Linked DNA regions of Homo sapiens: all the other regions are linked to region 3. The links are contacts of gene promoters, found by promoter capture Hi-C in blood cells and fetal thymus (Javierre and others, 2016). All regions are on one chromosome and are shown on one strand. The core of a region is centred on a gene start or on the middle of the fragment in contact, and the rest is flanking DNA. Distances in the headings are between cores, read along the strand shown.

What was found. Contacts are between HindIII fragments. The CHiCAGO score rates a contact against its expected background, and 5 or more counts as called.
Region 1: a contact is called between a fragment that was not itself captured here and the fragment with the promoter of GABPA in region 3, in 1 of 17 cell types (total CD4 T cells). The highest score is 5.1, in total CD4 T cells.
Region 2: a contact is called between the fragment with the promoter of C21orf91 here and the fragment with the promoter of GABPA in region 3, in 7 of 17 cell types (total B cells, non-activated CD4 T cells, fetal thymus and 4 more). The highest score is 22.6, in total B cells.

What each region holds. Positions count from the first base shown.
Region 1 is chr21:17,600,488-17,604,401 of GRCh38, forward strand. The region is part of intron 3 of BTG3 (BTG anti-proliferation factor 3); the gene reads right to left. It also overlaps a transcript of CXADR not described here. Among named protein-coding and RNA genes, the nearest start is that of BTG3-AS1, 9.2 kb to the right of the region's middle. The HindIII fragment of the contact is 4,212 bases long and covers 1-3,914 here.
Region 2 is chr21:17,817,894-17,821,410 of GRCh38, forward strand. It overlaps C21orf91 (chromosome 21 open reading frame 91), which reads right to left and starts at 1,463. Exons shown (of 5, transcript NM_001100420.2): 1 at 1,410-1,463; 2 at 299-432. The coding sequence starts at 425. The region is part of intron 2 of LOC124900465 (a long non-coding RNA gene); the gene reads left to right. RefSeq lists a silencer at 1,078-1,857 and an enhancer at 2,108-2,157. The HindIII fragment of the contact is 2,618 bases long and covers 910-3,517 here.
Region 3 is chr21:25,733,586-25,737,485 of GRCh38, forward strand. It overlaps GABPA (GA binding protein transcription factor subunit alpha), which reads left to right and starts at 1,387. Exons shown (of 10, transcript NM_002040.4): 1 at 1,387-1,993. ATP5PF (ATP synthase peripheral stalk subunit F6) reads right to left here and starts at 1,319. Exons shown (of 4, transcript NM_001003703.2): 1 at 1,268-1,319. RefSeq lists enhancers at 741-820, 1,139-1,794, 1,221-1,330, 1,351-1,470 and silencers at 931-1,030, 1,971-2,110, 2,171-2,380. The HindIII fragment of the contact is 6,464 bases long and covers 1-2,905 here.

The DNA.
Region 1 (3,914 bases), core at 772-3,271, 8.1 Mb before region 3:
ATTATAAAGTAAAAGGCTTAACTGCTATAAAGCCTTTGAAAATGTACATGAGGCTGGGTGCAGTGGCTTACACCTGTAATTCCAGCACTTCAGGAGGCCTAGGTGGGCAGACTGCTTGAGCCCAGGAATTTGAGACCAGTCTGGGTAACATGGTGAGACCCTGTCTCTCAAAAAAACAAAAAAACAAGAACAAAAAATTAAAAAAACAGAAAAGAAAATGTATGTGGAAATCTAGCAGTCTCAGAGATCACACATAGATGAGTTCTATTTCTTCAGATAGCTATGCTGTCTTCCATTCCTATAGGCCAAATGAAACTATAAATACTACTTAAATATAGTACATAACTTCGCTTTTGTATTCTTTTTTAGTTTACCTCATAAAAGTTGCTACAGGGGCTGGGCGCGGTGGCTCATGCCTGTAATCCCAGCACTTTGGGAGGCCAAGGCGGGTGGATCATGAGGTCAGGCGTTCGAGGCCAGCCTGGCCAACATGGTGAAACCCTGTCTCTACTAAAAATACAAAAAATTAGCCGGGCATGGTGGTGTGCGCCTGTAATCCCAGCTACTCGGGAGGCTGAGGCAGGAGAATTGCTTGAACCTGGGAGGCAGAGGTTGCAGTGAGCTGAGATCGCACCACTGCACTCCAGCCTGGGCGACAGAGTGAGACTCCGTCTCAAAAAAAAAAAAAAAGTTGCTACGGGATGGTAGAAAGGGCATTAGACTAGTTTCTCATTCTGGCTCTGCCACTGACTAGCTTGGTCACCAGAGGCAAGTCACTTAATTTCCCTAGGCCTTAGTTTCCTATATGCTGGACGAGGAAGCTGGAGCTGGCTAGATAGTGGTTGATCTACGGCTGGTGACTCTTCGTAGTATAAAATACCTAAACAGAAGCTGGACATGGTAGCTTACATCTATAATTCTAGTACTTTGGAAGGTCAAGGCAGGAAGATTGCTTGAGCCCAGGAGTTCACAATTATAGTGAGCTATGATCATGCCACCGCATTCCAGCCTGGACAACACAGCAAGACCCTCTCTCTAAAACAAAACAAAACAAACAAAAAATAAATTCCTAAACAATTGAGTTCCTCACAACATAAAATTTGTGTTCTCTAATTTCAAGTTTACTTAGCATAAGGTTTTAGCAATACACATTTACTCCATGTCCCCTCCACAGTTGGAAGACTCAACAAATTTCAAGACAATCAAGGGTTAATTCATGTGTTAATGACACTAATATAACAATGACTTAGGCCTATCTTCAGTTTTGCCCATTAATGGAATCAAAATTCAAAAATGGAAAGGCAAGAAATTTGAGAAAAATTCCTGCCTTTGTAAACAGAAACCTCAACCAAGGGCAAATATCTAATGATTGAAGGATCAGCATTATTAACTCAGATTTCTTTGACACCTAGTTTGGTTCTGCATTTTTCCCTTTGTACTATTTTGGTATGAAGGCTCTCTCTTCATGGTAAGAGAAGCTGCTGACTATACTACTATAACATTACAATGTGCAGTCGATATCTTAGGAGAATTAGTAGACACCTGGACAACTTTTAAACTTTCCATTTTTCAATGATCACTGATAAAACATCAAGGCTAATTTAGTTATTTAGAAACAATCAATAGTATTTAACACTCTATTGGGGGAAAAAAAGGATGGCAGAAATCACCAAAAAAAAAAAAAGTTGTAAAATATGTTGAGTAGATAAGCTGGCATCTGTTCTCAGAACTTCTCATCATAGGCAAGATTTATTTTCTATTCTGTATCACGAAGTGATAACCTTTCTAACTATATGGCACTCTTTGTACTCTTGCAGCATTTTATTCTATCAGAGTAAGTGAAGACTATGAAGAATGTTCTCAGTGCATCTCAATTTTTTTTTACAATCTTAGTCTCTAGTATACCAATGAGTTATTATTTTTAAAGATTCTCAGATATTTGATCAATTGTATACTTGCTAGATCAGCTTTAATTTTCAAAATATCTATGTTTCCAGTTTTGGTGAAAAAATATTTCTCAATGTCTTTTTCTTCTGTTAACTTATATCAACCACCTCTACTAAACGATTAATACGTCTTTCTTTTTGGGGTTCTGTTATTGAATGAACACCTGACACTCGCAGGTGATTTCTATTAGCTGTGAAAAAAATCACATCAGAGCCAATTTTTGGCAAATTTACATATAAATTAGAAGCCTACTGAATGAAAAGGTTTTCTAAGATTAATAAGATGAAAGCAAAGTAGCAGTTTTTTCCTACCAGGCATCATCAAGTAATGAAATGTCTACTGAAGTAGAATGTCCGTATAACTAAAGTTTTTATGTTCAGGTACTGAGACTTATTTTAAGCATTTTAAATACATAGGTCCAAAATGTTTATATAATTATGTAACTTGTTAAACATCCTTGGACATAAAAACTTTCCCCTGATGGTTTAGGATCATTATATTGAACGTAAACTATTTGATTGTGTGATAACATAATCGTGCTGATTTTTTAGCTTTTTCATTTTTGCCTCTATGTCAGACCACATGACATTTTTTGGTAGCGTCTGACTCATCAACCCTCTTTAAAATGCTGCTTCTCACATTTCATGGGTTAAGAAACCACACAACTAACTTAACTGTGTGTTAAATAGGAGCCAACTAGGATCTAAGTGCAGGTCAAATTAAAAAGTAAACAATTCAATATAGTAGCTTTTTGACAGCTATTTCTTATAAATGGAGGTCTTCTGCACAGGTTCAGTGGCCAAAGTTTTCCAAGTCTGAAACTAGCCTAAAGCAGGTCCTTAATTAGTCCCAGAATCTAAAAATGTTTATTTTCTCAGACCTAAATTTGAGATAGCTTGCTCCTTTTCTACCCGAGAAAGAAGTATTGGAGAATGTTTATCACAAACCTCTACCACCTACATCTGGTTTCCAAAAGCAATAAACTTACACCAACCACTGGCAAATCAGGTAGTAACCTCAAGCGGTGGTCCTGACAAAATTTAATGGAAGAATAATCATGTAATTCATCTCTCCTGTCTTCACCTCCACCTTCATTGCTGGAATCAGGTCAGTCTGCGACCACCTTAGGAGTACATAGTTAGGGTTCCTTCAAAAAGCAACTTTACTACAATCAATAAAGAGGCCAGGTGGTCAGGTGAATTGTACCTCAAAACCAAATAGAAACATCCTAAAGGCAGAGCCACAGGAAAATTCTTGCAGGAATTCCATGCCTCTGTTCATCTTCTTCCTGCTAGTTAGAACATCCTTCCCACCTTGTCACCTGGTCAACCATGGCTCATCCTTCACCTCCCAGCTCAAGTATCACCTACTCAGTAGTCTCCTGACTCCTCACCAGATGCAGTAACTTTCTACTTTGTGCAACCTACCACTGCATTTTGTACACATTTCTAACATAAATCAGATAACAATGTAATTTGCTTACTTTTCTTCTCAATTTCAAACTGAATTACCTAAAAGCAGAATGTTGCTTTCGTTTTTGAAAACCCTACAACTGAGAGTGCCTGGTCCACAAATAATGGTTTTTGAGCAAGTGGAGTTCAAAAAGATTTCATACCTAGCACTGATCTTTCACAACTCTATTCATTAGGAGATGTGAAAAATAACTTCCATTATAAAAATAAAACCACGAAGTATCACTCAGTCACTTACATAATCAAAAAGGAGGAGGCCGGGCGCAGTGGCTCACGCCTGTAATCCAGCGCTTTGGGAGGCCAAGGCGGGCGGATCACGAGGTCAGGAGTTTGAGAGCAGTCTGGCCAACATGGTGAAACCCCATCTCTACTACAAATATAAAAAAAAATTAGCCGGGCACAGTGGTGGGCGCCTGTAATTCCAGCTACTCAGGAGGCTGAGGCAGGAGAATCACTTGAACCCGGCAGGCAGAGGTTGCAGACAGCCAAGAATGC
Region 2 (3,517 bases), core at 213-2,712, 7.9 Mb before region 3:
CAATTCAATAAGCTCTCAAACCAGAAAACACGTTTCCCAGTCAACACTCATACTTATTTCTGTATTAGGAAAAATGGGGTTGTTGCAGGGGTCTTTAAAAAAAAAAGATTTCTCTTAAATTCGTAACTCTGTTAACTGCACCTTCATTTCCAGAAACCTTATCTTTAACAAATCTCTACACTATTCATACTTAGCACAATTTCCAATCATTGAAGACATTTTAGTTTTACCTTACAATCAGTACAAAGCAGCTGTGTTAAATTCATTCCATAAGATCAAAACTATACTGTGTCCTTACCCTCAATATTTAGCTCAAAACAAATGTGGCAGAAGGAGAGTGTTTCTTTGTCTGTTCCCAGTTTACAAACACTGCAAATGTTGTCATCATTCAAATCAATGTTTACAAACTGCTCCTCTTCGTTCATAGTGCCCCTATTAAGAAACAGAAAAGGAAAGTTACACAATTTCATGAACCTGCCTTTGGGGTAGTTCCCTTTACTGGGAACTTCTAGGAAATAAGGATGCTGTTCAGCTCATTTAAAGCAAAAGCTCCATCAAACAAGCATCGCCATACTTGCACTCCAACATTGCACTTTTCCTGTGGAAAGACACAAAGCTAGTAAAACTTAAAGCCAGGCCATAGGTGACACTATGTCCGTGTCTTTTTTGTCCTATAGTTGATTGGGTTAGTGGCACCTGAAGGAAAGAGATTTGCCGGCATTCTAGTCCTCCTCCTTCGTCCCCCAACCTCGAATAATCAGAGGGCTTAGCAGCGAGGCCTTTTCAGCTACCAGGTTCTGTCAACCTAGTTAACGCTGTGAGAAACAGGAAAAACGACCTGCACGGGACACTGCTTTGCTAACTTCATTGGGGGAACCTCAGATGCGCCTCGCGAACTCGGAGTTGCGAAGCTTCGCATCGAACGGAGATCGGCGGCAGCAAAATGCACGTGGGTACCGAATACCCGGGGAGGGCGTCCCGCCGTGTCCGGGGCAACTACACCGAAGGCCGAGCGGCGGCTTCACGGTACCGGCCGGGCACCGCCGGAGGGGCCCAAGCCGGAGCTGGGAGAGCCGCGGCATCCTGGAGCCCGGCGGGCGGGAGAGCCTCGTCCCATCGCTCCGGGATTCCTCCCAGAGGGAAGAAAGCGTCCGAGGGCCACGGCGGCCGGTCCGCCCAGCCTCAGCGTCTCGGGGAGCCGGGTCCTGGCCCGGCCTTCGGCGTTGGGGGCGCGCGGCCGCCCCCAGGGAGTCGCGGACCCAAGTCCGTCTTTCCGTCGGTCTGTCCGTCGGGGCGCCTGGCGCGCAGCAGCGCGAGGGGCCACGGGGCTCGGAACTCGAAGGAGGCGGAACGATGGGACTGGGGGTCGGGGCTCAGGTGGGATGGGAGCAGGGCTGCGGGGTCTTTACCGTCCGGCTCCGCGGGCCACCACCGCCGTTCCGTGCGGCTCGGGTTCCTCCACTATTGTTTCCGGCCGCAGCAGAGGCGGCCGCCGCGCGCCTGGCCCCGCCCTCTCCCGCCGGCTCCATCCCGTAAAGGCTGCGGGGAGGGTGGCGCGGCCGCGGGCACACCTGCGCGCTCGCCGGGCTGCTGTGGGTCCGCCCCTCCGCTCCTGCACCGACGCCGCACCTTCGCCTCGAGTTCTCCTGTGATCCCGTGTTTCCTGGCCGGAGTTTCTTACCGTTCTCTGGAACGTAGCTCCTCACACACCCCTCCTCGAGGTGCGTAGATAGACGAATCCGTTCCACCTCTCCCTTCAGCCTAGTGCAAACTACTGCCCCGGGGCGGGGGCCGCAGGCGGCGGGGGTAGGAAAGCCGCGGGTGGATGGCAGAACGGGAGAGGTGCGTGGGTGGCACTTTGACTTCAGGAGAAAGAAGCAGAATACTGTCACTGAACTTATAGTTAAGTGCCAGTTGAAGTATCTAACGAAGGAAAAGTTCATATTCAGGTGTCATGATAGAGGCATAATTTCAAATACAGAATCTTTTCAAATACATTATTTGTTGTGGGGCGCCCCTGCCCCCAATATGGTACATCCCTCAACGCCCACGGGAAAAATCCCGAAGCCCCACCTCTTATTTTTAGGTCCTGCTTGGTTCTCAAATTCTTTGCTTGACTTTTGTTTAAGCTATTCTGTTTTTTTTAGGGTATGGTTCTTGCAGTACTTTCACTTACATTTTCCATTGTAGTCCTCACAGTAACCTACAGAGGAGAAACAGGAACTGTTCTCTCATGTTGCAGCCTACGAGTAATTGACCCAGGTTATCACAGTTGGTTAGAAAAAGGCTGGGACTTGAACCGAAGGCTACTGACCTAAGATCAATGTTATTTTCTACAGCATCATATGTATGTGTTCTGGTTGCACTCACATAGAAAGAGGGCTAGCCTGTCAATCTACATGTAGGCATTCTTGAACTGATGGTTAGGAATGGACTGTCTAGATCTTGGAAACTTCTGGGCCAAATTAGCACTCCAGTTATGGCATTTGTGCCTCGCAGGAGCGATCTGTGTCCTTGCCACCTAAATTGTAGTAGATGAACAAACAACATTGACATTACTTGGTTTCCTGTTAGAAATGTAGAATCTCAGGCCCCACTCGAGATTTCCTAAATCAATACTTGCACTTTAACAAGACCGCCAGGAGATTCCTATGTTCATCGAAGTTTGAGATGCACTAATTGAAATGAAAAGCCTGTGCTTTTTCTCTTCGAATTTCTCATTCTAGGTAACTACGACTAAGATACCTTGCATGTTGGATTCTACCCATCTTTTCAATAAAAAGCATTCTTTTAAAAAGGACTCTTTTAAAGTGATTCAATAAAAGTGTTCTAAAATCACTAAAATTTAAAAATTGAAACAAGTTATTTTCACTTCTCAGAATTGTCTTCCTTCCTATGGCATTTCACATTGTTTACTTGCTATTCTTAAAACTCTTCTCTCTTGTTGTTGGCTTTTTAAAAAAAATCAAGGAATAATTTACAGAAATAAAATGCTTCCATTTTAAAAGCATTATTTGATGAGTTTTGGCAAATACATACACTTGAGTAACCACCACCCCAGTGAGGATACAGAACATTTCCACAGCCCCGACATTTCTTTCTGTTCCTTTCTGGTCAAGCTCCTTCAACATGGGATCTAATTTATATGACGAAGTGTTTTAGTTTTGTCTGTTATAGGAATTCATATACATAGAATTAAGCAGTGTGTGTTCATTTGTGATTGGCTATTGTCATGCAGCATGTTTTTGAGATTCACGATGGTATTTTGTAACAGTGGTTTCTTTTCACTGCTCGTCTTAGTCAGTTTGTGTTCCTATAAAGGAATACCCAAGGCTGGATAATTTATATAGAAAACAGGTTTATTTGGCTCATGGTTCTGGAGGCTGTACAAGAAGCATGGTGCCAGCATCTGTTTCTGGTGATGGCCTCAGGCTGATTCCATTCATGATAGGAGGCAAAGGAGAGCCAGTATGTGCAGAGATCATGTGGCCTGAGAGTGAGCAAGAGAGAGAGGGGA
Region 3 (3,900 bases), core at 137-2,636:
AAAAAAAAATTGTGCAATTCAATGCCACTTTCCCTTCTGGCAAACTAAGGACATGCTTAACATTCAGCAATAGGTTCACCCGACATTTGCTTAGCCCTAGATACTGTGCAAAGTACTTCCATATATATCCTTTCCTTGTACCCTTACAGCAATACTCTCAAAGAGTTAAAGTGTTCTTATCCCTGCTTTACAGATGATAAAACTGTATCTAAGAAAGATTAAGCTGCACGTATTCTCACAGTTAATTTGCTCTAAGTCTGACTGCATAGATGTTACTCCTTCTGCAACACGGGTAAAATCCACTTTCATTGTTTCAATTATCCACCATGTAAGTGCCTATGATTCCCCAATCGCATTTCTAATTTTAGTATTCATCCTGAGCCCCAAATCTATCCACAGCATTCAACAGTTCTCATCTCCCTTATAAGTCCTACGAACTCATCCAAAAAACGAACACATAATCCCATATCAAAACTTGTTCCTTCTCCTTTAATCCCTTTCATTTTTTTTCACTGATTAGTGAATGCATATTGTCCACTAAAACGCAGAAGATAGTCATTACACAAATAGCTGTGAAATACCACCTGACATAAATTCTCTATTCCAGTACCATCGGGTGCCACGAGAGCATATGATAGCGTCTGACATGATCAGAAAGACTGGGGAAGGCAACAGTAAGAAAACACTAGTCTGAGCAGAGGCCTTGTTCTGGGTGGGAGCATGGTTCTATTTATAGTGATGACTGACCGGCCAAAGGTTAGTAGGTTCGCTGCCTCTTCAGTGCATATTCCTATGAACAATCCATAAAGTCGCCTAATGAAGTGTTAGCACCATCGTTTTTAGGTGGGATGCAAACTTTCAATATTATGACTAATTTTTTCCCTCTTAATGGTACACGTTCTGCCTAAGTAGCCTAGACGCTCCCGTGCGCCCGGGGCGGGTAGGCCTGGCCGAAAATCTCTCCCGCGCGCCTGACCTTGGGTTGCCCCAGCCAGGCTGCGGGCCCGAGACCCCCGGGCCTCCCTGCCCCCCGCGCCGCCCCGATTTGCCCTCAGAGAGGGTATCGATCTTATTTCTGGGTCTACGGCAAACTCCAAGGTCTACAAACGTAGAGGTCAGCTGTGACCCCGGGCCAGGCCGTGAAGGTCCCCAGGACACAGAGCTGCTCTCTCCTCCTAGTAAAGGTGAGAGGCAGCCCAGGCCTCGTGAAAAAACCCAGAACTGGAGTCCCAAAAGGCCACGCTGATCTAGCTACCCTCCCAGTCACCTTGCACTCAGTCCCGAGCTGCCAAAGCCTCCGCCGCCACCACCTCCGCTCTACTTCCGGCCCTGGCTCCGCCCCCACACGCCTACCCGCCATCGCAATGCATTATGGGCCGCCGTTTCAGTCGGTCGACGCTCACCGGACAGGAAGCGTCTCGGAGACAGTCTGCGACCGGACGGGTCTAGGTGAGACAGAAGCCAAACAGGAGGAGGAAGTGGAGGGTAAGTGCTTCCGGGTCCCCTGGCACAGCCTCCGCCATCTTTTCTTCGCCTAATTTGACCCGTTCTTTTTCCCCTCCTTGAAACCTTGCTCTGTACGCATGCGCTCTTTGAGTGGCCTTTCCCCTAGTTCAAGCTCCCCTCCGAGTCAGCGTCCTGTTCGTTAGGGTTATCGAAGTGTATAAAGGTGCAGGGAAAGTGAGACTGTGTAAAACAAAGCGGATTGGGGCGTTGTGCTTCCTTGTACCTCGTGAGCCTCCGTTGCCTTGGGCGGTCGTTTTGCGCACCCTGCCGGGAGTTGTAGTCCTGGACCCGAAGGTGCCTGGGAGGCGGGAGGGGGGTTGGGGCTTCTCAGCGCCGATTCCGCGGGAAGGGCCCTGGGACCTCACACTTCTAGTCGCGGGAGCTGCAGGTCTTACCCGGAGAGACGCTGCACGTGGAGCCCTCGCCGCTGCCGTTCTCAGCCGGCTCTGGAGTGCGGGCGGGGGCGACAGGGCCGATTCCGGAGTGGGTGAGTGCGGCCGCCGGGGAGGAGGGGAGCGCGGGCCCTCGCGGGCCGGCCTCGTTCCGGGGCCTTTTCCCCCACAAGGGCCCCCCCGCGGCCGCCTCTGTGTTTTGTTTCCGCTGGTCCCCGGCGCTGTGACTCCCATTTCCGTTCGTGGAGACTTGAGGGAGCCGGGTGGGGAGGGGCGGGAGAGCTGTGCGGGGAGCGAAGGGGAGGGGCGGGGGGCGAGCGGCCTGGAGCCCGGGGGGACCGGGCACCGCCGGGACCCGTGCCGGACGGGTCGCCTGTCGCCGCTCCCTCCTTTCCGCGTCCCCTCCTCGCCCGTCCGCACTCCTCAGCAGTCTCAGCCTGCTCAGCTGGGATGTGGTCCTGACGCCCCCGAGATTTTAAGAGCAAAATGCAGACCCTGTCTCATCGCGGGACTCAGCGATTCACTCATTTCAAATCCGCTCTCTTTATAGAACAACACACACCAGAATCATTTATCAGCGTATATGGTAGCCATCTGGGTTTGTTTTTTTGTTTTTAAGCAAGGAAGTAAACCAAGGAGATAACAATGGGTTGTCTACTTGGAAATTTTTTTGTGTACTAGAAGACACGCTGTATGTGCGTGTTTGGATTTAGGGACCCCAGTTTGATCAGGTTAGCGGACCGAGAGGACAATGCCTAATATTGCATTGCAAGATGATTAGAAATTTAGAAATAAAATTCATTTCATAAGTAGTTTCCACTAATAGCAGTAGGTCTGACTCGTGAGAAGAGCAAAGATTTAGCAGGATTCACTTGAGCGAATTGTAGAACGAGGCGGTGATAACATTCTTCGGTAGTGTTATCTTGAACTTCAGAAGAAACCGCTCAACTCTTTAGCAACTGCTTGAGGGACTAGCCTGTCTCTCAGGGTTCCATCCAGGCTTTCCAAGCTTCTTTATTTTTAGACATACAGTGACGCTGAGTGGACTTCAAGTCAATTTTACCTGAATTGTGTATACAAGAGCATCTGTCATGAGGCATGTATAGTAATGAAGTAATTAAATCATGAGCTAGATGTTAGGTTGAAGCAAATCATCAGACCGAGTACTAAATTAAAACTGTTGACTTTAGCCTTCCCTCAACTCTTTATATATAAAACTCCAAACCTACAGAAGAATTGGGGAAAAAATCATGCAGTGAACACGCAGATACCCTTCACCTGAGGGTCCCAACTGTTAATCTTTCACTGTATGTGCTTTCTCTTTTTATATTACATAGATATGTATGCTTTGCTTTTTCTTAACTGCTACCTTTATTTTTGAAAATAAAAATGTCTTTTAATTTCCTCAGACACAGAAAAGCATTTGATAACTTAGGAAAATGTGCAGTTAATCTCGCAGGTACCCCCACACTCCACTTATAATATATTGGGAACAAAATGTTCTAAGCTCTGTAATAATGCTCTCCAATGAAGGACAATTCTCAAATTTATCTGTAGTTTCAAAAGGGAATGTTACACCTATCTGTATTTTAAAAGACACTAGCCGTTCCCAGAATTTTTCGTTAAATTCAAGTTTAGTTTGTATCCCATCTTGTGAAACATTCCGAACCCCAGGTTGGATTTAATCCAGCAGAACCAGAGTGTCAAAGTATATGAAATTGTTCTGTGCAGTTCTGGCGGGGGCAGCCCTTAGACGGAGAAACTGCAAGTAATTTTCTCTCAGTTTTCCTAAGTATTGACATAGAAGCCTGAGGAATTGGTTTCAGAAAAAGAGATAAGACTCACTCAAAAACTGATATGAAAGATTTGGACTATTTCTCAAATCTCTGTTTTGCTTCTCTGGACTAAGCATAGAGAACCAGGAGAGAAAGAAAGATTTAAGAGACTGAGTAATATTTTTTGACAGATCATTTAAGAAACTGAGTAATTTTTTTTTTCTCCA